7 separate regions of the Homo sapiens genome follow, and regions 1, 2, 4, 5, 6 and 7 are each linked to region 3. Evidence: promoter capture Hi-C in 16 types of primary human blood cells and fetal thymus (Javierre and others, 2016). All regions are on one chromosome and are shown on one strand. Each heading gives the region's core, a stretch centred on a gene start or on the middle of the fragment in contact. The rest is flanking DNA. Distances are from core to core; before and after follow the strand shown.

Region 1 (3,152 bases), core at 473-2,972, 930 kb before region 3:
ACCAGCCTTGCTCTCCTCCTCTGTGTAATAAGGACACCAATTCCTACCATGCCTCCAGTGTGAGGGGCACCAAATGAGGTAATTGGTGAGCCATGTGTGAAAGCTGCTCTACAAAGAGCTTTACAAACCAAACTATTCTACAAATATTGTGTTATTATCCTATATAAAAAACAGAGACCTGTGAAGTTCATGGCCCGGGGAAAAAAATATTTAAAAGAGACCATGGTATCTTCAAATACATTAAAACAAAAGGTTGATGTGAATAAGAATATCAGAGTGATTCTACATGGCCTCAAAGCCAACGCCGGGGCTAAGGAGGCATCAGAGCCTTAGCATCTGACCAGGGCTAGTAAACGTCTGTGCCAACCTCTAAGATCCCGTGAAGCTCTGTCTCTCAATAAGATAATTCACAGGCCCAACTCTCAGCTTTAGAAAGTATCATCATAACTAGAGGATGGGGCTGGGTGTGGTGGCTCACACCTGTAAATCCCAGCACTTTGGGAGGCCGAGGCGGGCGGATCACTTGAGGTCAAGAGGTCGAGACAGGCCTGGCCAATGTGGCAAAACTAGTCTCTCCTAAAACACAAAAACTAGCTGGGCATGGTGGCACACGCATGTAGTCTCCAGCTACTTGGTAGGCTAAGGCAGGAGAATTGCTTGAACCCGGGAGGCAGAGATTGCAGTGAACCAAGATGGTGCCATTGCACTCCAGCCTGGGCGACAGAGTGAGACTCTGTCTCAAAAAAATAAAAATAAAAAAATACCTAAAGGGTGGGCAAGCTGTGACCCTGGGCAGGTGGGAGCCAATGGCACTGCTGTGTTGCCAGTGCTCCTGAGGACTGCTCACAGGGGATTGCCTTCTGCCAAGTCCAAACCAGGAAGCTATCACACCCCATCCGGAATGTCTTCTGCTGTCCTAGGCACCATGTCCACGGACAAAGATTCTGCTTCCAGGCAGGGCCTGGCTCCACGAAGCTGAAGTCATGTTCCCAGAGCCTGTGTCTGAATCCCTGACTCAAAGAGAGAAACAGCCATCTCATATTTTGTGGTTTCTTTGAGCCAAAGGTATTTAAAAGGCAGAGAAAGCCAAGACAATCAATTTGGGGTCCACTCCCCTTGAAGTTCCCCTTTGTTCCTGGGAGAGGATGAATTAAGGACTTGTACTCTCTCTAGCTCAAGACTTTCCCATGACCTCTTCCACTCTAATTCCCCTTCACATCACGGGGGGACCCTAAGCTACTCTTGGATTTTTTCCTAGCCCGAATATTATAGAAGAAAGCAGTATCTATCCCCTACTAGGTAGATGGGAAAGAAACAGAGTGCCCTGTCCTACCCCAAAACAGTACCTTCTTAAGGTTCTTCCTGAGAGGGGTTATCCAATGACTCCCAATTAATAACACACATCTTTGCAATGAGACTTTGTAGCTCCTCCCATCAAGAGATGAAATCTAATTCTCCACTCCTTGAATCTGAGCTACCTTTGTGAGTTGCTACACAAGACAATGCAGAAGTGATGATGTGCCATTTCCAAGGCTAGGCATCAAGATACCTTGCACGCTTCCATTCTCTCAGGATTCTGCTCAAGGCTAGCCTGCAGGAAAACAGGAGCCCATGCAGAAGAGAGCCAGATCAGCTCAGTGTCCTAGCTGAAGTCCCAAAGTGAGAGAGCCAGACAAGACCAGCAAAGGTGATAAACAGCTGATGACAAACTTGAAGGAGTTCAGCTGAGACCAGAACCACCCAGCTGACTGCAGCCTAAATTGCCAAACTACAGAATCATGAGCTAAATAAATGGCTACCGTTTTAATCCAGTGCTTTCAAACTTGAACCAGCATGGAATCACCATGAGGGCTTGTTAAAACAGAGACTGTTAAGCCCACCCTAGAGTTCTGAATCCAGCTGGTCTGTGACGGGGCCCAACAATTTGCATTTCTAGCAAGTTCCCAGGTGATGCTTCTGTCCAGGGATCAGATCTTAAGAACTGAGAATCTGAAACCACTAAATTTTGGGGTGATTTATTACACAGAAATAGCCAAATGATACATTAAGACAAATTATAAATCAAGTTCTCCTTTTGGATCAGAGTAGTGTTTGAATGGTTAAATTCCATTCATTCATCCATCCATTCATTCATTCTTCAACCAAAAAGCCTTTATTAAATGCTTATTTGGACTAGGCATGATCCAAGGCTATGTTGGTACAGAAATAAGAAAGATAGGGTCCCTGCCCCAAAAGGGTCAGTTTCTACTACAGAGACCAGCAAGAAAACAAATCATTATGGAATAGTGTAACAGTGACCATATAACTCTGTTTGAGCCACAGGGTTAGTAGGGCAGGGAGAGAGATCTCAAAGGTAGCTACTAACAGAACTGCTCATGGCACTGTACTAACTGTGCTCAGTACACTGTGAAGGAGAAAGGAGGCTGGAGGAAATAACAACACCGGGATCTCAGGAACATGTGTTCAGTTTCCCTTTCTCTAGGGTAGACAACCATGCCACTCAGGGGGGCACATGGCCGAAATGCCCCACACTTCACGATAAAGCAAAACAGCAGAGACGATACAGAAACATAGATGTGTAGACATGAGAGACGCCTCCATTAGAATTACAGTCCTCATAGTGCTTCACCGCTGGAAGAAAAAGAGAGCTCTTTTACGAACCCCTAGCAATTCCCCCTGCACTCATCTGTCCCGAACACTGCCCTCTAATCAGCGCTTCTCAGACTGAAATGTGTGTGAGTCACCCGAGTCTTCTGACACAGTAGGTGTGACTGATGCTGCTGGTCTGTGGACCACACTTTGAGTGACAAAGCTCAGAGAGGTCTTTTTATTTATTTTTTATTTTTATTTATTTTTTCAGACAGTTTCACTCTTGTCGCCCAGGCTGGAGTGCAATGGCGCGTTCTTGGCTCACTGCAACCTCCGCCTCTCAGGTTCAAGCGATTCTCCTGCCTCAGCCTCCCGAGTAGCTGGGATTACAGGCACCTGCCACCACGCCCAGCTAATTTTTTTTTTATTTTTAGTAGAGATAGAGTTTAACCATGTTGGCCAGGCTAGTCTCCAATTCCTGACCTCAGGTGATCTGCCTGCCTCAACCTCCCAAAGTGCCGGGATTACAGGTGTGAGTCACTGTGCCCAGTCAACTTTTTTTT
Region 2 (3,070 bases), core at 490-2,989, 950 kb before region 3:
TTTGGCAGCTCTTGAGCCTGGCTGGTGTCTTCAATGGAACCTGCCTTCTCAGTTAAGTCAGGAAAAACATAATCTAAGGACAGAGATGAAAAGTTCATTCACTTGTTTCATCATTCATTGCTTTACTCAGTATTTACTGGGCAGATGGCATAAAAGAACCACAATACACTGACAGGGCAGGGGTCATCAGGTCATGATGGAGAGGCCAGGGGAGCAGACTGTGGGAGGACACAGGGACAAGGCTAGTCACTGTTTCCTTTATGATGATAAAATAATACAAATTTATCACCAAAACTCAATGAACACAGGAATGTAGAAAGTTTTGTATATTGCATTCCTCCAAAAGAGCCATGAGTAGTTTGAGGTATATATTCTCCACTGTGTTTGTAATGTGCTTGCTTGTCCTCATCTGGGGATTTCACCAAGAAGATCCCACAACAACCCACTAGGAAGGGTCCCCCTACTCCTTTTCTAGTGAGTCGTTATAAGAGTCTTCTTGGTGGAGTCCCCGAAGGAGGTCTGAGAGCCCTCTCATCACTGGAGGAAGTGAGACCCCTCAATTATGACCATTGTTCCTCAACTGTGCTCTTTTTCTGTAATTTAGGCCCTGACAGGAAATGAAAAAGATGTAGGGAGAGCCAGAGAGAGGCCAGGGGCTGAGCCCAGAGTTTTCCAGGGCCTCCCAGAATGTTCAGGGTCACTGTTGGCAATGGGAGAGGGGTTTTTATTCTCCCTGCCATTCTTGGGAATTACATTTTGAAGCAGAGAAGTTAGGAGACTTCCTGGAGATCAGATTGTTTTCTGGCTTTTCAATGAACCCTAGGCCTCTTCCAAATAACTATGCATGAAAGTTATACAACAAGTTTTTTGGAAATTCATTCAAAATATCAGAAGCTGTATCTAGGAAGCAACTTTTATTGGCTGCCATTTTGTTTCAAAATAATAAATATTGTAGTTTTAAAATACTCTTTAGAAAGGAGAGTGGTGGGAACACTTTAAGATAGCGAACTAAAGGTATTCATTTACCTCCTCCTCCAAAACTTTTATCAAATGACAAAAACAATTTTAACTGTCAAAATGAAGATAAAAACATTTTAGAGAAATTTCTGGGAACATGGAAAGCAGATGAGATTATAGGAACAGATAACCCCTCAGCCAAAATAAACATAGGAAAAAATAGCAGGGGAGGAGGCAGGCTTTCTTACCCAGAGTTAGGAAGAGGCACAACTGTGGGAGCAAGGATGTAGAACACAGAAAATTCAGAGAACAGAAGGTAATTTTTAAAAGTCTAATTAGTATCCTCAGAAAGATTACAAAATATTGCATCCCTAAAATAAGACGCCACTCAGAAAATCAAGTAATCTTTAAAAAAGAAAAATTTCTTGGATATTGAAAGTCAATAGTTGATATTTAAAAATTCAACGGATTGAAAATTCAAATTTTTAATGGCTGGGAAAAAAAAAAGTCAAGGAAAAGCCTCTAGGGCAAAAGTGAGAAGACAACAGATAAGAGTTAAAAGATACAGACAACCAATGTAGGAGATCTAATACCTAGCTAATATGATTTCTGGAAAGATAGAACCAACAAAATGGAGAATAATGGAGAGAAACAAAGAAAAAAAGTTTCAGAGCTGGCAACATGAATCTTTGCAATGAAAGCTTGTATCATCAAGGTGAATGATAAAAGACTTACACCTAGCCTCATTCTCATGTGATTTTAGAATTATAAGGAGCAAGAGAAAATCTTAACAGCTCTCAGAGAAAGAACAGGTTATCTGTAAAGGAACAAGAAACAGATTACCAAATTATCATGAAGCTTCTAATTAATATCAGTAGCCTAGAGGAAGAATTTAAAAATGCACTGAAAAATCTGAGGGATGTTTATTTTGAACCTGAAATGTTATATCCAAATAAATGACTACTCAAGTGTGATTGCAAAATAAAGACATTCTCATACATGCAAAGATTTAAAAGTGTTACTATCCACAGATTCCAAGAGATTTAAGTAAGTTATTTAAGAAACCAAAAAAAAAAAAAAAAAAAAAGACATGGGAAATCAAGAAACATGAGAGGAATGCAATGAAAATATATCTCAGGATGGAAACTGTGCAGTAAGCCTGGAAAGCAATTGGTTCAAATTAGAACACACAGAGAGAGCTCTGAGAACGATTATTTCAAAAAGAAAAATTGATTCCCTGTAATAAAAAGTATGACTTAGAAGCTGAACAATCCTAGTGACAACTGAAAGCCCACTATAGTATTTAAATCAATAATTAGAATATTCTATCCAGTCCACTTCTGTTAATTAGACTTTTTGAGTAGCAGATCCTCCCCCTCTTCCACCTACTGCACACACTCTGTAGTGAAGTCACTACAGATAAATAAGAAAGAAAGAACAACCAAGATTCACAAGACATTTTAAGAAAGCCAGCCTGATGAAGAAGCATAAGGGTGGGACCATAAAGCAACTGACCTCTAGGAAAAGTTAGTCTAGTTAACAAAAGAGAATTCAGAAAAGTTTCTTGTTAATATCTTCAGAAAGATTCAGGAGGAAATCACACCCACAAAACAAGTATATAGAAGAATAAATATATTTTACCTCAATGTAAGTAAGAACTTTATAATAGCCAGATCTATCCAGAATTAAGATATAATGCATGAAAACATAACTGAAATGGGCTGGATGATTACTTGATAGGAATACTGGGTAACAGAATAGGAGTCAGATGGGTGCCTAGGAAATACAATATATGAAATCACTTACAAGCATAATATTTCATTATTGGAAGATTAATCTGACAGCAATTTACAAGATTAGGTGAAGGAGTAGATGAATGAAAGTGCAAAGAAGAGTCAGGGAGTTGCTGCAGTGATTCGGGAGAGATGCATGGCGGTGATGACACTGGAGATGATGAGAAAAGAGCAGACTCAAGAGATGACTCTGAAAGAGAAGTAATCAGATGCGTGAGCTAGATGGCCAACAGGGAGAAGCTGCGGGAGTAGCCAAGCCATTAATAGAGATGGTGAAGTTCAGAGGAAAGGAGTATTGGAAACCTTCAGGACGCACTTAA
Region 3 (3,189 bases), core at 663-3,162:
CTTTCCAACATTCCCCAAAACAGGAGACCAAATCACAAGGGTGAGAGCACCCAAACAGAGCCAAGCTTATCTTTCTAAATTCCAATTCAGGTTCCTCCCTCTCGGCCTTCCAACACAAGCCATCTCCTCCCCCATTTAATCCTTGCCACGAGTGAGGTCCACAAAACTATACAACGCCTAGCAAGCACCAAATGTGCCAAGTACTCTGCTAGGCTAAGAAGAGAGGCCTCCACAAAGCACTCTCTCTGTGCGTTTCCTTAACACTTTCACAGACATCATCTTATCCTAGGCAGTACCTAGGATACATACACACCCAATTTTTTTTTTAATGTGGCCATTGAGGCTCAAAAGAGTTTTTTACCCAAGGTCACACAGCTAATGAGCACCTGCCAGAACTCCTGAAGTCTGTCTTTCTAAGCCACCTCCCTAATTCCTCCTTAATTAACTAATTCATCTACACCCAGCTCTGTGCGTTTCATTTAATCCTAGTCCCTTTTACTGGGTTCATTCATCTCTCCACAGTTACTTACAAAGCACCTGCAGGTGTAGACACAGGTGGAGGAAGAGGCCGAGCACAGCAACATGCCCTGGAATTGGCTTGTTTCAATCCCAGCTCTCCCACTTACTATTTACATGATCTTGGATCAGTTCGTTCACCTCTCAGTGCCTCACTTCTCCTTAATCTACAATAATGGGCTAAATAGGGCTGTTGAAAATTAAATCAGTTAACTTATAAAGGGTTTAGTCCAACGCATGGCCCCTACACTGCAATAAGAGCTGCTTTTATTCTTCTGGGTTCTGGGGACAGTCTTCAATCAGACAGGAACCTTAGCCTCAAAAAGCTTACACTCTAGCAGTAAACGCAATAAACAAGTAAACAATTATCAACAGAAGCGATCACTGTGATGAGTGCTATGAAAATAATAAATGTTGGACGCGGGGTGGGAGGTTACTTCAGATTGGGTGGTCAGGGAAGGATTCTCTGGTGATATCTGAATTACAACAAGAATTACAAGAAACAGCGGGATTTAAGGAGAGCTGAAGGAGAGAGAACAGCCGGCGCACAGACCCTGAGCTGAGCCAGCGGCACCCTCCAGGAAAACACGGCGGTCCTGAGGCTGGGGACGAGGTGCGGGTGCCACGCGAGGGAAATGGCACGAGATGCAGTCCCAGAGGGATGCAGTCCCCAGAGGTCGACGGGCAGCGGCCAGCTTTGGAACCAGGGAAGGCATCATCCAAGCGCGCTAGGAACCCACTGGAGGGTTTCAGGCAAGGAAGGGGATCAGATCTGAGCTATGGTTCTTCCTGCGCCCCGCAGATGTGCTGTGGAGAACAGGCCGGCGGGGAAGAGCTGAGTCCCCAGGCAAAGCCCAGGTGGGAGACACCGCGTACCCAGAACGAGATGCGCGCACCTGAGGGGCCACGGGCTGGGAGGCCGGGCGCAAATTCAAGAAACGTAAAAACTAAGCCGACCGGAGCCAGGACGTGGCCAGGGCGTCCCTCGTGTCCCAGGGGCCTCGCACCTGTACAGTTCTTCACTCCTCCTTCCCTGAAGCCCATGTCGCGAAGCTCCAAGGCTGCCAGCCTCGGGCTCGCGTCTCGGCTCAGCCTCTTCCTGGCCTGAGCCCCCGGAGTCTCCCAAGCCCCACGCCCCTCACGCGTGGAAAGAGCCCCGGCCCTGCGCTCCGCCCCGCACCTCCCCCCCGCGCCCGCGGCCTCCACGCCCGCCCCGGCCCAGGCGGCGCCGCTCACCCGGACACCCTGCAGCACCCGGACCCGCTCCTCCTCGTCCACTCCGAAGGACACCCTGCGGCCCTCGCTGCTCTCCGTGCTCCCCATGGCGAGATGCCGCAGGGCCGGCAGCCACCAGACCCGAGACCCGGCTCCAGAGCAACCGGGCCAACAACGCTTTCCAGGACTCGCGCGGCCGCGGCACACGCCAACAAAGCCACGTCCTATTGGCCGACGCCAGAGGCTTCACCAATCGGGTGGCGCTGAGTCGCGGTGCCTTGTGGGGATTGCAGTCCTTCCGTCTGGAGGGGTGGGGGCGTGGCGGTCTGTGCCTGCTAGAGTGCGTTAGGCTGAGGCCGAAGATGTGTACCGGCGGAGGCCCTGGAGTGGAGGGCTGGGTGCAGGACAGGGTCACGTTCTCGCTTTGGGAGCTCCCCCTTGAGGGAGAGCCAAGGGTGATGTTCTGAGGCCAGGAGACGCCGAGACGGCCAAGGCGCTCATCTGGAGGCGAATTTCTGAGGGTTCACTGCTCCATTCATTCAGCAAACACGTGTAGAGCAGCACGGGCTGAGCGCCAGACGAGCAGGGACCTGGCCCTGGCATTACAGCGCCCCTCAAGACAGCGAGTGTCCTGCCCTTGAGAGGTTTACAGTGCAAGGGGAAAACAAGTGAAAAGCCAAACACGCACGCAAGGAAACTGACTGTAATACACGGAAAACTGCATGGCGATGCCACTAGTAAAATGAACAGAAGGAGGCCTCTTTTAATTTCAGTGGCCAGAGCAACCTCTGAGGAAGAAGCTTTGAACTGAGCCGGCGGGAGAGTAGGATTTATGTAGAAAAAGGTAGGGGAAGAGGTTTCCTGGGAGTCTCAGGCAGGAAAAGAGAAAGAGGGGTCATCCCATGGCTGGAAAGTGAGAAGAGGGCAGAGGAGTGGTGAGGACCCAAATCATGTCGGGTCTTGTGAGGCAGGGTCTGAGTGTGGGTTTTATTCTAAACGCCCCGGGAGGACAGGGAATGGTCCTAAGCCGTTAGGAGGCATTGCCCAAGGAGTGTACATACCATGTGTGGAGTGCAGTGTGCCAGGCATTGTGTGTAGGCTTCTTACACAGGACCCTATGTGTAAGGGAGCACACAGACGGTTGCCAGTCATAGACACTGCTACCTTCAAATAAGCCCCTTTTTGTTCCTCTGAGTTGCTGAATGGCTTTGATTTGCAAAAGTGCGCCTGAAGCCGAGCTGAGGAAAACTAGATGGCTACATGAAATAGCCAGAAAATATTTGGAGCTCCTATTGGCAACCTGGAAAGAAAGGGGTGAGGAGGAGAGAATGATTGAGAGAGAGCAGTAAGGCTCTGAGATTGAGAATAGCTCAGGGTGAAGAAGCTAGTAAACATCCCAGAGCTGGTGTGACGATGGAATCTTTAGGAACAAAGGTGTCTGCTAGTTTCATTCAAAAT
Region 4 (3,102 bases), core at 603-3,102, 870 kb before region 3:
GCTGTCCTGGTGTGGGCTTCGGGTGTGGGCTGTCCAGCTGCCTTCCTTCAGGGCGCCCTTCCCCTGTCTGCAGGGCCTGCCTGACTGGAGTCCTCCCTTCTCTGTGGCCCTTAGATACCACCACATGAGAGCTGAGTGGCTCCCTGGTCCCCTCCTTGTGGTCTAGCCCAGAACTTCCCAGTCAGAGGAGTGGGCTGTGGGCAGGCAGAGAGACAGACAAGGGGCTGGGGAAGCCTGGAGGTTGTAGTGGCCTGATGTCCCTCACACCTACAAGATGGTGGTAGACAGGACTGGGAACTGAGGCCTGCTTTCTTTGCTTCTCTCCCACTGCTTCTCTCACCATTTATTCATTTGTGTATTTATTCAACAGATATTAAACACCTACTGTATGCTAGGCAGATGTCCTTTTGTGGGGTAAGGGGGAGTGCAGGCAGGGAGAAAGAGCCAGGGCTAAATGTCCAGGAACATATAACAGGGCCCAGCCCATCAACTTTTGGGGACTTTGTCCTAAAGAGTTCAGGAGGCAGTGTTAAGAGTGGACTCAGGAAGTCCAGCTCTGAACCCCAGCCATGCTGCTGTGTGACCTGGGGCCAGTGGCTTGGTCTCTCTGTGCCCCAGTGCCCTTCTGCATAACAGATGTTGATCTGCTTTAGCTATGGTGTTCATGTGAGCACCTATGAAGTCGTCTGCATAGCTGCAGCCCAGTGGGAGCCTGGCATACAGTAGGCGTGTGGTAGTTTGTTGCTTTTACTGCCTGCCCTGCTGACACAATTTCTCATGGCACAAAAGACAGAGTATATATGGATCTGGGCATGTGTCAGAAGACCCAACTGAGACTCACAGAAGCCAGTTTTTGACTGAGAAACTGGGCAGTTCCTGGGCCTCAGGCACAGCAGGATTTGGGGGCACAGCAGTGCTGCTGGGGCACCATCTCCATCTCCCACTCAGCCTGGGATCTCCCCGATGGCCCTGCTCTCTCGCCATCTGCCCTTGTGGCAGCAGGGTGGTGTCCATGGTGCCAGGCTTGCATGCTGTCCGTCTGCCTTTCCCAGCAGCCCCACCTGACATCCTGGGTCTCTCTCACAAGGCTCCCTTGGGGCCTATGCCCTTCCCTGAACTAGCCCTGAGGCCAGGGGAATGGCACACACCACTGGCCAGTGCTGCGTCCCAGGCCCATCCCTGAAGCCAGGAGCGGTGGACTCAGCCTCACCTGGAACCACCGAAGTGGGGGTGAGAAGGGAGAGGAAGGGGATGGATATACCAGGCCGATAAGCACCACAGATGCTGAGCAGGCACTTTGTGAAACCTGCTGGGCTGGTGGCTTCCCTAGAGGTCTCTGCACCTCTTCTCGGTGACCTTTTGCCTGGTCCCGCATGCCTCAGAATTAAAACCATGAATACGGTAATAACAGCAAATGTATACTTGGCCCTTCCTGGGTGCCAGGCAGGCTTCTGCTGCATCTGTTAATCCATTTGACCCAACAATCAAACACAGTAGGTTTTGTTTCTGCCCCCATTTTATAGATGAGAAAGCTAAGGTACAGAGCCAGGAAGCAGCAGCGTGCTGCTTGTGATGTGAACCTGGCCCATCTGGCTCCACCATGCGCACTCCTGCTCACCAGCCCAAGGCTGTTGGTGCTAGCCAGGAAGCTGGGGCCCCGAGAGGGAGGGCCAGGCTGGAAGTCACCTGCAGTTGAGGGTCTGCAACTCTGTGAGCCTTGCTTCCTGGAGTGATCCCCACCTCCCTGTGTCCCACCCTGACTTTGCGCCTTCCTCCTTTCCGACCTCAGGAATCAAAGGCTCCTGTAGATATGGGGGTGGGCTTGCTGCCCCTGCCGATGCAGAGGCTCTTGTTCCCTGACTGCCACACCACTCCCTTGCCCACCAGGTGTTTGTGGTGGCGCTGGTGGGCATTGCCCGGGCCGTGGTATCCATGACGGTGAGCACCTCGAACGCTGCAACTGTTGCTGATAAGGTGCGGCTGGGCCCTCTGAGGGAGGCCAGGGAGGCCTGGCCTGGGGTGGGCTGGGGATGCTGGTCCAGGCTGACGCTGTGCCCACTCTGCGTGCAGATCCTGTGGGAGATCACCCGCTTCTTCCTGCTGGCCATCGAGCTGAGTGTGATCATCCTGGGCCTGGCCTTTGGTGTGTGTACCGCTGGGCTCTTGGGCCCTGGCGATGCTCTCCCCTGCCCCTCCCTGGCTGTGGGCTGACTCTGGAGTGGTCACCTGGGCTGGCTCCTGCCTGCTGACCAGCATGTTTCTTCCAGGCCACCTGGAGAGTAAGTCCAGCATCAAGCGGGTGCTGGCCATCACCACAGTGCTGTCCCTGGCCTACTCTGTCACCCAGGTAAGAGGGTGAGTGTGGGCAGGGGACGCTAGGAGTCAGGGCACCAGGCACCCACTGCTTCTGGGTCTGGGTCAGGTTTCCAGTCTTTATCACCTTCAGAGTTCTCAAAACTTTGCACCTGAGAAATCACATGGGGTGCTTGTTACCGAGGCACATTCTGGGGTCCCCTGGAGATTTGGATCCAGTGGGCCAGGGCGCCAGGATGGGAGGCTCAGGACTTGCCGTTTTAATAAGGAGTTCAGGTAGGGATGGTGCAGGTCCGCAGACCCCCCTGAGAAGCATGCATCTAGAGGCCCCTTTCTTAGATTGGGGGCAGGGACTGCACCTTGTCCATCTCTGCCCCCTTCCCCATGTGACTCAGCCCAAGACTGGGCCGGCTCTGGATGCTGCAATCAGTTGGGCAGGACATGGCCAGGGAGCAGACTGGGGCAGGTGAGTTGAGGGTCAGGCCAAGAGGCTGAACTTGGTGTGGTGGAGAGCTTAGGGGGCTTTGCATCAGGGAAAGCCCCTGGGAGAGAGAAGCCTTGAGATCCTCTCCCTTCCTCCCTTCCTGCTTGCCCCTGCAGGGGACCCTGGAGATCCTGTACCCTGATGCCCATCTCTCAGCTGAGGACTTTAATATCTATGGCCATGGGGGCCGCCAGTTCTGGCTGGTCAGCTCCTGCTTCTTCTTCCTGGTGAGGTTCAGGCTGGGGCAGCTGGGGTGGCTGGGGCCTTAGGGCCAGGTAGGGATTGGATTCCTGGGTTTCTGGCTG
Region 5 (3,033 bases), core at 131-2,630, 980 kb before region 3:
GTGGGTGAGTGAGTGAATGAATGAGTGAGTGATGGAATGATGTGTTCTCTTTATCCTCTCTCTCAGGAGGAGCCAAACCCCCATCCCATGCAGGGCAGGTGAAGGCTCAGGTGCTGAGCCCAGGTCCCCACAGAGAGCGCCTACCATAGCCCCATATTATCTCTCTGGTTTCTCTTTGAAGGAGAAAAATGTAAAAAGTGCACTGACATGAGTGAGTGAGGGACTGTGCAAGTGAGTGAATGAATGAGTGAGAAAATGAATGCATGATGGATTGAATGAGTGAGGAAATGAGTGAGTGAATGAATGAGCAAGGGAATGAATGAATAAGTGAGTGAATGAATGAGGGAATAAGTGAGTGAGGGAATGAGGGAGTGAATGAATGAGCAAGGGAATGAATGAGGAAATTAGTGAATGAATGACTGAGGAAATGAGTGAGTGAGAAGAATGAGTAAGTGAATGGGGATGAATGAATGAAGGAATAAGTGGTGAGGGAATGAGAATGGATGAATGACGAAAGGAGTGAATGAATGAGGGAAATGAATGAGGGAAGGAATTAATGAATGAAGGAATGAGTGAGAATGAGTGGGGATGAATGAAGGAATGAGTGATGAGGGAGTGAGTGAGAATGGATGAGTGTGGGTATGAATGAGTGAGATCATGAGTGAATGAGGGGATGAATGAATGAAGGAACAAGAGTGAGGGAATGAGTGAGAAAATGAATGAGTGAGGGAATGAGTGAGAGAATGGATGAATGAGGGAATGAGTGATGAGTGAATGAATGAGGGAATGAGTGAGTGAGGAAATGAGTGAATGAATGAAAGCGAATGAGGGGATGAATTGAGGGAATGAGTGGGTGAGGAAATGACTGATGAATGACTGAGAGAATGAATGAGTGAGGGAATGAATAAGTGAAGAAATAGAATAAATAAGTGAATGAGTGAGGGGATGAATAAATGAGGGAATGGGTGAGTGAGGGAATGTGTGATGAGGGAATGGATGGATGAGGAAATGAGTGAGAGAATGAAGGAATGAGTGAACGAGTGAGTGAGAGAATGGATGAGTAAGGAAATGAGTGAGAGAATGAATGAATGAACGAGTGAGAGAATGGATGAGTGAGGAAATGAGTGAATGAATGGATGAGTGAAGGGATGAATGAATGAGGGAATGAGTGGGTGAATGAATGGATGAGTGAATGAGTGGGGGATGAATAAATGAGAGAATGAGTGAGTGAATGAGGGAATGAGTGAGGGGATGAATGAATGAAGGAATGAGTGGTGAGGGAATCAGAATGGATAAGTTAGGGAATGAATGAGGAAAGGAGTGAGAAAATGAATGAATGAATGAGGGAGGGAATTAATAAATGAAGGAATGACTGAGGAAATGAGAGAATGAATGAAGGAATGAGTGATGAGGGAATGAGTGAGAATGGATGAGGGAATGAATGAGTGAGAGCATGAGTGAACAAGGGGATGAATGAATGAAGGAACAAGAATGAGGGAATGAGAGAAAATGAATGAGTGAGGGAATGAGAGACAAGTGAATGAATGAGGGATGAGTGAGTGAGGAAATGGGTGAATGAATGAAAATGAATGAGGGGATGAACTGAGGAAATGAGTGGGTGAGGAAATGAGTGATGAATGAGATAATGGATGAGTAAGGGAATGAATGAGCAAGTGAAGACATGAGAGAATAAATGGGTGAATGAGTGAGGGGATGAATAAATGAGGGAATGAGTGAGGGAATGTGTGATGAGGGAATGGATGGGTGAGGAAGTGAGTGAGAGAATGAATGAATGGGTGAATGAGTGAGAGAATGGATGAGTGAGGAAATGAGTGAAAGAATGAGTGAATGAGTGAGGCGATGAATAAATGAGGGAATGAGTGAGAGAATGAATGGATGAGTGAATGAGTGAGGGGATGAATAAATAAGTGAGAATTGAGAGAATGAATGAATGAGAATGAATGAGGGGATGAATGAATGAGGGGATGAATGAATGAGGGAATGAGTGAGCGTGGGAATGTGTGATGAGGGAATGAATGAGAGGAAATAAGAGAATGATGAGTTAGTGAATGAGTGAGAGGATGAATAAATGAGAGAATGAGTGAGAGAGAATGAATGAGGGAATGAGTGAGGGGATGAAAGAATCAGAGAATGGATGAGTCCATGAGTGAGGGGATGAATAAATGAGGAAATGAGTGAGCGAGAGAATGGTTGAGTGAGGGAGTGATGAAGGAATGAATGAGTGGCCAAGGGAGGGAGAGAGGGATGGAAAGAGGGAGGAAGGAGGCAGGAAGGCTTTATCTGAGCCAGGCACTGAGCTGGGAACTGGGTGTGGAAGCAGGGTTGGCCTCGCAGCCTGGCCACCCATGCAGAGGCCCAGACCCCACCCTAGAAGGTCCGTGCGTTTGGGTGAGTGCTCTACTGTTGCTCTCTGGAAATTCTTAATGCTCTTTGAGCAAGGTCCCCACGTGCTGTTTTGCACTGGACCCTGCAAACCACTCAGGCCCTGGGTGGGTGGCACCTGGCCTCTGTGCAGAAGGTCCCCCAAAGGTGTGCAGACCTGAAGGACAGCCCGTTCTCTCCACGTCCTCATGCTCTACTTATGGCCAACCAAATTCTGCCTGGAACTTCACTGTATCAAACCTAGAGCCAACAATGTTTGCATTTGTTGGCTTTTCCAGCCTCCTCCATGAACACTCAGGCTCATCACAAGCCCCTTACTGGGCACCTGTGATGCTCCAGGCACGGTGTCCAGCGCTGGGAGGAACCCAGCGCTGCACGGTGACCAGGGCAGAACAAGGTGGGCCGCCCTCACAGAACAAGGACCCCGGGCGACATGGACTCCCACCCCAGAGCCTAACAGCGATGGGCACCCAGTGTCCGCCAGCACAGCCTGGGGCCAGCACAGCCCTCCAGAAGCCAAAGGTGAGCAGGAGCGGGCCGGGGTTGGGGGCACAGCAGAGGGGTCTGCGGGGGAGTTTTCGAGGTGCAGAGAGCTCAGGGCGGCCCCAAAACTGAGAGACTCTCAGGATG
Region 6 (3,247 bases), core at 524-3,023, 830 kb before region 3:
GGAGGCCACCCACAGGCCTGGCAGTGAGTGCCTCCCTGTGTTTTTTATGGAGGATGCCTCTTTTGTCTCCCCTTGTCCCAGCCTGCACAGTGCCCTCCCTTTCCACACCCCCATGCCACCCTTGGCTGAAACTGGGTGGACAGGCCAGCCCTAGGCTTATGCCCCACTCTGACACCCCACTGGGCTCTATCTCAGCCCTGAACCCAGGTCTGCCAAATTCTATTTTGGTTTGTATATAGTGCGTTTGACAGCATCTCTTTGTGCAGATTTTTCAGTGGTCATTCCAGGTATTAGATTATACATATATAACTTATCACAGTTAGCTGATGTTGACATTTTATCAGTGGGGGGGGGGGGGGGGGGAAGAGGAGAAACCTAAGTCCTTCACTTTCCCTGTTCTCTCCCCCTGTATAACAATTCTTTTTAGTATTTCCTCTACATACGTTGGCAATCACATCATTCAGTGTTATAACTTTTGCTTCAATTGTCAAGCATAATTTAGAAAACTCAAGAGATGAGGTCTATTGTCTCTATCTATATTTTGTTGACTGTGTTCTTCCTTCCTTACACTTTGAGATTCCTTCTTTTCTCATTTTATTTGTTTGGCAAACTTCCTTTAATCACTCCTTTTGGGTAGGTCTGCTGGTGACAAAGTCTCTGTTTTTTTTTTCTTCTGAAGATGTCTTGATTTCCTCTTGATTTCTGAAGGATATTTTCACTGGATGTAAGATTCTGGGCTGAGAGTTCTTTTCTTTCAGCTCTTGAAAATTGCTGTGCCACTTCCTTTTGGTCTCCATGGTTTCAGTGAGAAATCTGCTGTCATTAAAATGGTTTTCCCTTACAGGTAAGATGCTGTTTCTTTTTTCTCTCTCTCTGTCGCCCAGGCTGGAGTGCAGTGGCACAATCTCGGCTCACTGCAACTTCTGCTTCCTGGGTTCAAGCGATTCTCCTGCTTCAGCCTCCCGAGTAGCTGGGACTACAGGCGCGTGGCACCATGCCCGGCTAATTTTTTGTATTTTTAGTAGAGATGGGGTTTCACCGTGTTAGCCAGGATGGTCTCGATCTCCTGACCTCGTGATCTGCCCGCCTCATCCTCCCAAAGTGTTGGGATTACAGGCGTGAGCCACCGCACCCAGCCTGTTTCTGTTTTTTTTTTTTTTTTTTGAGGTAGAGTCTCTCTCTGTCTCCCAGGCTGGAGTGCAGTGGTGCGATCTTGGCTCACTGCAACCTCTGCCTGTCAGATTCAAATGATTCTCTTGCCTCAGCCTCCCTAGTAGCTGGGATTATAGGCATGCGCCATCACACCTGGCTAATTTTTGTATTTTTAATAGAGACGGGGTTTTGCCATGTTGGCCAGGCTGGTCTTGAACGCCTGACCTTAAGTGATCTGCCCTCCTCGGCCTCCCGAAGTGCTGGGATTACAGGCGTTAGCCATGGCGCCTGGCCAAGATGTTTTTTTCTTGCCACTTTCAAGATTTTTGTCTTTGTCTTCAGTTTTCCGAAGTCTCAATAGAAGGTGTCTTGGCATAGGTTTGCTTTGATTGATGCCATTTGGGGTTTGCTCAGGTTCTTGAATCTGTAAATTTATGTCTTTTGCCAAATTTAGGAAATTTCTAAACATTATTTCCTTGAAAATCTTTTCAGCTCCACCCTCATCTTTCTTCCTTTCTGGGTCTCTCACGACATGGATGCTAGGCCTTTTGTAATAGAGAGACCAAAATATAGACCAAAATGTATATAGGCCAAAATATACATACCCGAGATTCTGCTCATTTTTATCTAAGTCTATTTTTTGCTTTGTTGTTCAAATTAAGTAATTTCTATTATTTTATCTTTAGGTTCACTGACTCTTCCCTCCAGCCTCTCTGTTCTGGCGTTGAGCCATCCACTGAGTTAATTTTGGCTGTTGCGTTTTCAACCCTGAGTTCCCATTTTGTTCCTCTTTGTGGCTTGTTTCTCTGCAGAGATTTTCTATTTTCTCACTTGATTCTGTTGTGTTTGCCGTTGAGCATTTTTGTGATGGTGGCTTCAAATTGTTCAGATGATGCTGCTGTTGGTGTCATCCTGGGTTAGTCTCTGCATCTCTTCTCATCAGGGTCGGTGTTTTCCTGGATCCTGGTGTGGAGTGATTTGTGATTGAAGCCTGGATATTAGGGGTTATGTGGTGGGGCTCCTGGCCTTATTTAAACCTCTGTCTCAGCAGCCTCCTTTGAGGCCCGGCTGTGGTGGACTTCCTTGCCCCCAGCTGGGCTTCTCCAATACCTTCCCAAGGAGGGGTGGCATCTCAGTCAGTACATCTGGGTGAGGGTGGAGGTCTAGGCTCCCTCCTCAGTCTCTGCTGGCCAGGGTGGTGTGGGGCCTCGTCTTTTCCTGTGTGGTCTGATGGCGTAGGTCAGTTATCTTCTAAAGTTTTCCAGAATGCCCCTTGCCTGGCTAGAGGGAGCAGGTTTTTTTGGGGGATTGTTTTCTGAGCCTGTTGGTATTTCTAGGTTGCTGACTCTTTAGCACCCAGTTTGGCAAACACGAAGCAAAAAGATGGAACTCACCACCATGCTGTTGCCAGGTCCTGAGGCTCCCAGCTTGTGCTTCTCTGCACATGTTAGGGCCTCCTTGTATTCATTCTACACAGAATACCCATGACTTTTAGCTGTATTTGGTGGGGGGAAATAAGAAAAAGTACCTTGACTTCTTCCATCTTTCTGGTTGCAGCAGTTCCAGTGGGTAAAGCCCTTTGAAATTGCACACATACACCATCCTCTACGCCAGCCTCCTTCAAGATTCTGAGCTGTGCACTGCTGTTATTCATACTGTTTGTCTGCTCTAATTGTCCAATTCTTGTGAAAAGTCTAAACATGACCTTGGGTGATACCCTGGGGTGCATAGAGCAGAAAGCCAAGCTATAATGAGAGGTTCCTTGGATCTCAGAGGGTGGGCAGGGTCTGGAGGCAGGGCAGCTGGGATGGGGCTGGGCTGAGGTTTGGAGAGGCCTGGGTCCAGGCCAGACGAAAGCCAGTCCTTGGATCCACAAACACCCACAGCCAATCCATGCTAATTCTACGCATTCATGAGTTGTCCTCTAAAACTCTTCTTCCCAATTTCCTCCAAAACCCTCCATGTCATCTAGGCCAGGGTCTACTCTATGCCCCTTTGCTGTGCTCATGGAAACTTTTTTTTCTTAACTTCAAAGACAAGTGAGCTCATGGAAACCTCTCCATCGTTGACCAGGATCTATAGGAAAACCCTCCTC
Region 7 (2,970 bases), core at 139-2,638, 850 kb before region 3:
TCTCTTGTCTCAGCCTCCCGAATAACTGGAATTACAGGCATGTGCCACCATGCCTGGCTAATTTTTCTACTGTAGTAGAGATGGGGTTTCACCATGTTGGCCAGGCTGGTCTCGAACTCCTGACCTCAAGTGATCCACCCGCCTTGGCCTCTCAAAGTGCTTGGATTACAGGCATGAGCCACTGTGCCTGGCCCTTACTTGCCAGTTTTAGTATCCTTTGATTCTTGCCTGAAACAATTGTTCCCCAAGTGGCGGCCAAATAATGACTTTCAGATCACATACTCCACCCCTTCCACATTTACCAGTTAGCTTCCACTGTTAGGAAGAGCATTCTCTTCTCCCCATGCATTCATTTATTTTAAAATTTATTTACATTTATTTTTATTTATCATTCAGAGGAAAACAGGGACATTTTTGAGAGTGGAAGGGGCAATAGGTACATATTCAGGGATGATAGGTATAAACCAGGACTGTCCCCAGAAAACTGGGAGGTGCGTTGACCTGTGACACCCCTCACCCCCACTCCAGCCGGCTTCTGGGTAAGGAAAGCGGCTCTGCTACCACTCCAAAGGGGATGCCTGCCTGCCCAGTTCCAGGAGCCAGGCCTTGGAAATTCTCCTGACACCCCCTACTCTCTCATCCCCATATCCATTCTGTCACCAAGTCCTGTGCATTTTACTTCCAAAATGTAGCTTCGATCTACCTGTTCCTTCCCACCTCCACCAGCCTGGTCCACGCTGCCATTCCCTCTCCTCTAGGCCAACACTGTCATTTCTATTCTGCCCCATCCTATTCCATTTGCACACTCAGTCACAGAGACCTTTGAAACACACAGATCTATTCGGTGGCTCAGCCCCCTCCCTCGGCTCCCCTCTGGCATGGCCCCCATGTGCTCCTCCCCTCCCTCCCCATCTACGCCCCAGCACCCCAGGCCCTGGAGCCCTCAAACTCCCAGGTTTCCAACCCTAACCTGCCAGCCATTGAAGCTTACAGATTCTTTGTAGTTATACATTTTTATAGTTACAAAATCATTTTTTCACAACCATTCAAAAACGTGCAACAGTTGAAATTTTATTGGAAGGTAACTTTGGCACCACTGTCACCTTTCAGATTCAGTCACAGCAGCTGTGCCCAGTCGACATCCCACCTGCCACCAGAGGGCTCTCTGTAGTGCCACAGGTGGTCCTCATCCACTACTGCCTGCCCGGCCGCTTCTCATCAGTGGTGACTGTCAGGAACCCAAAGGACTGACCCCTGAAAAACATTCCTGATCCCGGACTGTGCTTAGTCAGCTCAAGCATGAAACCTGGTACATTGGTATAAAAAAATTTATGCTTGTAAGGCTGGTTGCGGTGGCTCACACCTGTAATCCCAGCACTTTGGGAGGCCAAGGCAGGCAGATCAGGGTGGGTCCCGGTTAGGTTGGAAGTTTGAGACCAGCCTGGCCAATATGGTGAAACTCCGCCTCTACTAAAAATACAAAGGTTATCCAGGCATGGTGTTGTGCGCCTTTAATCCCAGTTATTCAAAAGGCTGAGGCACGAGAATCACTTGAACCCGGGAGGCGGAGGTTGCAGTAAGCCGAGATCACACCACTGCACTCCAGCCTGGGTGATAGAACGAGACTCTGTATCAAAATAAAAAAAAAGAAAAAAAAAAGTTATGCTTGTAGAAGCCAACTCAAGATTAATTTACATATTTAAAAATATTTTCCTTGGAAATTTAATACACATCCAATATCGATTATCTTCTTTAAGTACTTTGTATCTTATTCTTCCTGTCAAGCTTTGCACTATAAAGGTGATGTCATGCTTTTCTGCCATGCCTCATGCAGGTGGCACCTCCTTCCTCACCCCCACGTCTTTTCCAGGTGAGCCGCGATGCGCAAAAGGTTGGGATGCCTGGCACAGGATGCCAGCTAGTCGATGTCTTTAGAATGCCCCTGCTGTCTCTCCCGGGGCTAAATCCTATTCCACCGTGAGCCTTCCTTGACCAGCAGAGAATAGAAGCGCCTGGTACATACAGGCCACCAAAGGTATCTGTTGAACAGACATGCACACGGCTTCTGCCGTGGGCCAGGAGGGCCCACTCAGGAGCCTGGGTACTTTCCCTCCATAGGCCATGTATTCCTGTGAACAGATGAATAGGGCAGATGCTGCTTTTATCCCTATTTTACAGGTGATAAAGCTGAGGCTCAGAGGGGCTTAGAGACTTGGCTAAGCTCAACAAGCTGCTGGGAAGTAGTAGAGCTGTGATTCAAATCCAGGCATTCTGGCTCCAGGACCATGCCCTTAGCTGCTGTCTCTTCATGCGCCAACCTTTGTGATGCTGTATTTGTTTGTAGTATATGACTATTGTGACCTCTGTGGGGGCACTTAGCACAAGGCCTGGTCCTTGGTAGGTGCTCAATACATATTGTTTAAATGAATGAATGAAAGCAATTATTGTTCCTTTAGATGATCAAAATTTCCACTCCACCCTAAGTTCCCCTTTCATGGAATGAAGGGATACGAGGCTAGGGAAAGTCAGCTTGGGACACTGATGGATTCTCAGAGGGCAGAGCTTGGCCTTCTTGGCCTGCCAGTGGGCAGAGAGACCCTCCCTACCCGAGGGGGCCAGGGAAGGCTTTGCTATGGCAGCGACATTGAGATAGGGTTTTGAAGGATGAGTGGGAGTTCACTGAATCTCAGAAGTGCAGCCTGATGGAATCTGGGGTTGGAAGCAGCACATGTAGTGAAGGGTCAGTCTCATCTTCAAACGACCTCCCCATCATTTAGGCTGGAGGTACAAAGCAGGACTATAGGAACATATACAGATGGCTGTGAACCCGTGACATGGCCAAAGGTTTCCTCTCATCCCTTTTGCTGAATCATTTAGTGCTGTTCAAAGACAAGGCGGTTAAGCCTTGTTCCCTTCGATGTCTCTCACTTGGAATGGATGCTTCTGGCTGCCAGCTGCTCTCCTCCTCTG

What was found. Contacts are between HindIII fragments. The CHiCAGO score rates a contact against its expected background, and 5 or more counts as called.
Region 1: a contact is called between a fragment that was not itself captured here and the fragment with the promoter of CHCHD6 in region 3, in 2 of 17 cell types (non-activated CD4 T cells and naive CD8 T cells). The highest score is 5.6, in non-activated CD4 T cells.
Region 2: a contact is called between a fragment that was not itself captured here and the fragment with the promoter of CHCHD6 in region 3, in 5 of 17 cell types (total B cells, naive CD8 T cells, naive CD4 T cells and 2 more). The highest score is 7.1, in total B cells.
Region 4: a fragment that was not itself captured here is called in contact with the fragment with the promoter of CHCHD6 in region 3 in 11 of 17 cell types (total CD8 T cells, non-activated CD4 T cells, naive CD4 T cells and 8 more); the score reaches 14.1 in total CD8 T cells.
Region 5: a contact is called between a fragment that was not itself captured here and the fragment with the promoter of CHCHD6 in region 3, in 2 of 17 cell types (naive CD4 T cells and non-activated CD4 T cells). The highest score is 7.4, in naive CD4 T cells.
Region 6: a fragment that was not itself captured here is called in contact with the fragment with the promoter of CHCHD6 in region 3 in 7 of 17 cell types (endothelial precursors, M0 macrophages, M1 macrophages and 4 more); the score reaches 8.2 in endothelial precursors.
Region 7: a contact is called between a fragment that was not itself captured here and the fragment with the promoter of CHCHD6 in region 3, in 16 of 17 cell types (naive CD4 T cells, total CD8 T cells, naive CD8 T cells and 13 more). The highest score is 16.7, in naive CD4 T cells.

The regions. Positions count from the first base shown.
Region 1 is chr3:127,634,430-127,637,581 of GRCh38, reverse strand. The region is part of intron 1 of PODXL2 (podocalyxin like 2); the gene reads right to left. Among named protein-coding and RNA genes, the nearest start is that of PODXL2, 6.8 kb to the right of the region's middle. The HindIII fragment of the contact is 4,056 bases long and covers 1-3,152 here.
Region 2 is chr3:127,657,381-127,660,450 of GRCh38, reverse strand. PODXL2 (podocalyxin like 2) reads right to left here. Exons shown (of 8, transcript NM_015720.4): 3 at 1-73. Among named protein-coding and RNA genes, the nearest start is that of ABTB1, 14 kb to the left of the region's middle. The HindIII fragment of the contact is 157 bases long and covers 1,661-1,817 here.
Region 3 is chr3:126,702,963-126,706,151 of GRCh38, reverse strand. It overlaps CHCHD6 (coiled-coil-helix-coiled-coil-helix domain containing 6), which reads right to left and starts at 1,912. Exons shown (of 8, transcript NM_032343.3): 1 at 1,753-1,912. The coding sequence starts at 1,839. RefSeq lists enhancers at 661-1,212, 2,273-2,332 and a silencer at 1,523-1,722. The HindIII fragment of the contact is 1,689 bases long and covers 845-2,533 here.
Region 4 is chr3:127,575,862-127,578,963 of GRCh38, reverse strand. It overlaps TPRA1 (transmembrane protein adipocyte associated 1), which reads left to right. Exons shown (of 11, transcript NM_001136053.4): 4 at 1,888-1,974; 5 at 2,071-2,143; 6 at 2,268-2,347; 7 at 2,914-3,024. Among named protein-coding and RNA genes, the nearest start is that of MIR6825, 2.1 kb to the right of the region's middle. RefSeq lists an enhancer at 2,929-3,102. The HindIII fragment of the contact is 5,084 bases long and covers 1-3,102 here.
Region 5 is chr3:127,685,033-127,688,065 of GRCh38, reverse strand. No RefSeq gene overlaps it. Among named protein-coding and RNA genes, the nearest start is that of ABTB1, 14 kb to the right of the region's middle. RefSeq lists enhancers at 2,334-2,463, 2,854-2,963. The HindIII fragment of the contact is 5,603 bases long and covers 1-3,033 here.
Region 6 is chr3:127,528,650-127,531,896 of GRCh38, reverse strand. All of the region lies in intron 5 of LINC01471 (long intergenic non-protein coding RNA 1471), which reads left to right. Among named protein-coding and RNA genes, the nearest start is that of LINC02034, 7.1 kb to the left of the region's middle. The HindIII fragment of the contact is 5,147 bases long and covers 1-3,247 here.
Region 7 is chr3:127,554,953-127,557,922 of GRCh38, reverse strand. It overlaps LINC02034 (long intergenic non-protein coding RNA 2034), which reads right to left. Exons shown (of 7, transcript XR_007096067.1): 7 at 1,046-2,970. Among named protein-coding and RNA genes, the nearest start is that of LINC01471, 19 kb to the right of the region's middle. The HindIII fragment of the contact is 799 bases long and covers 989-1,787 here.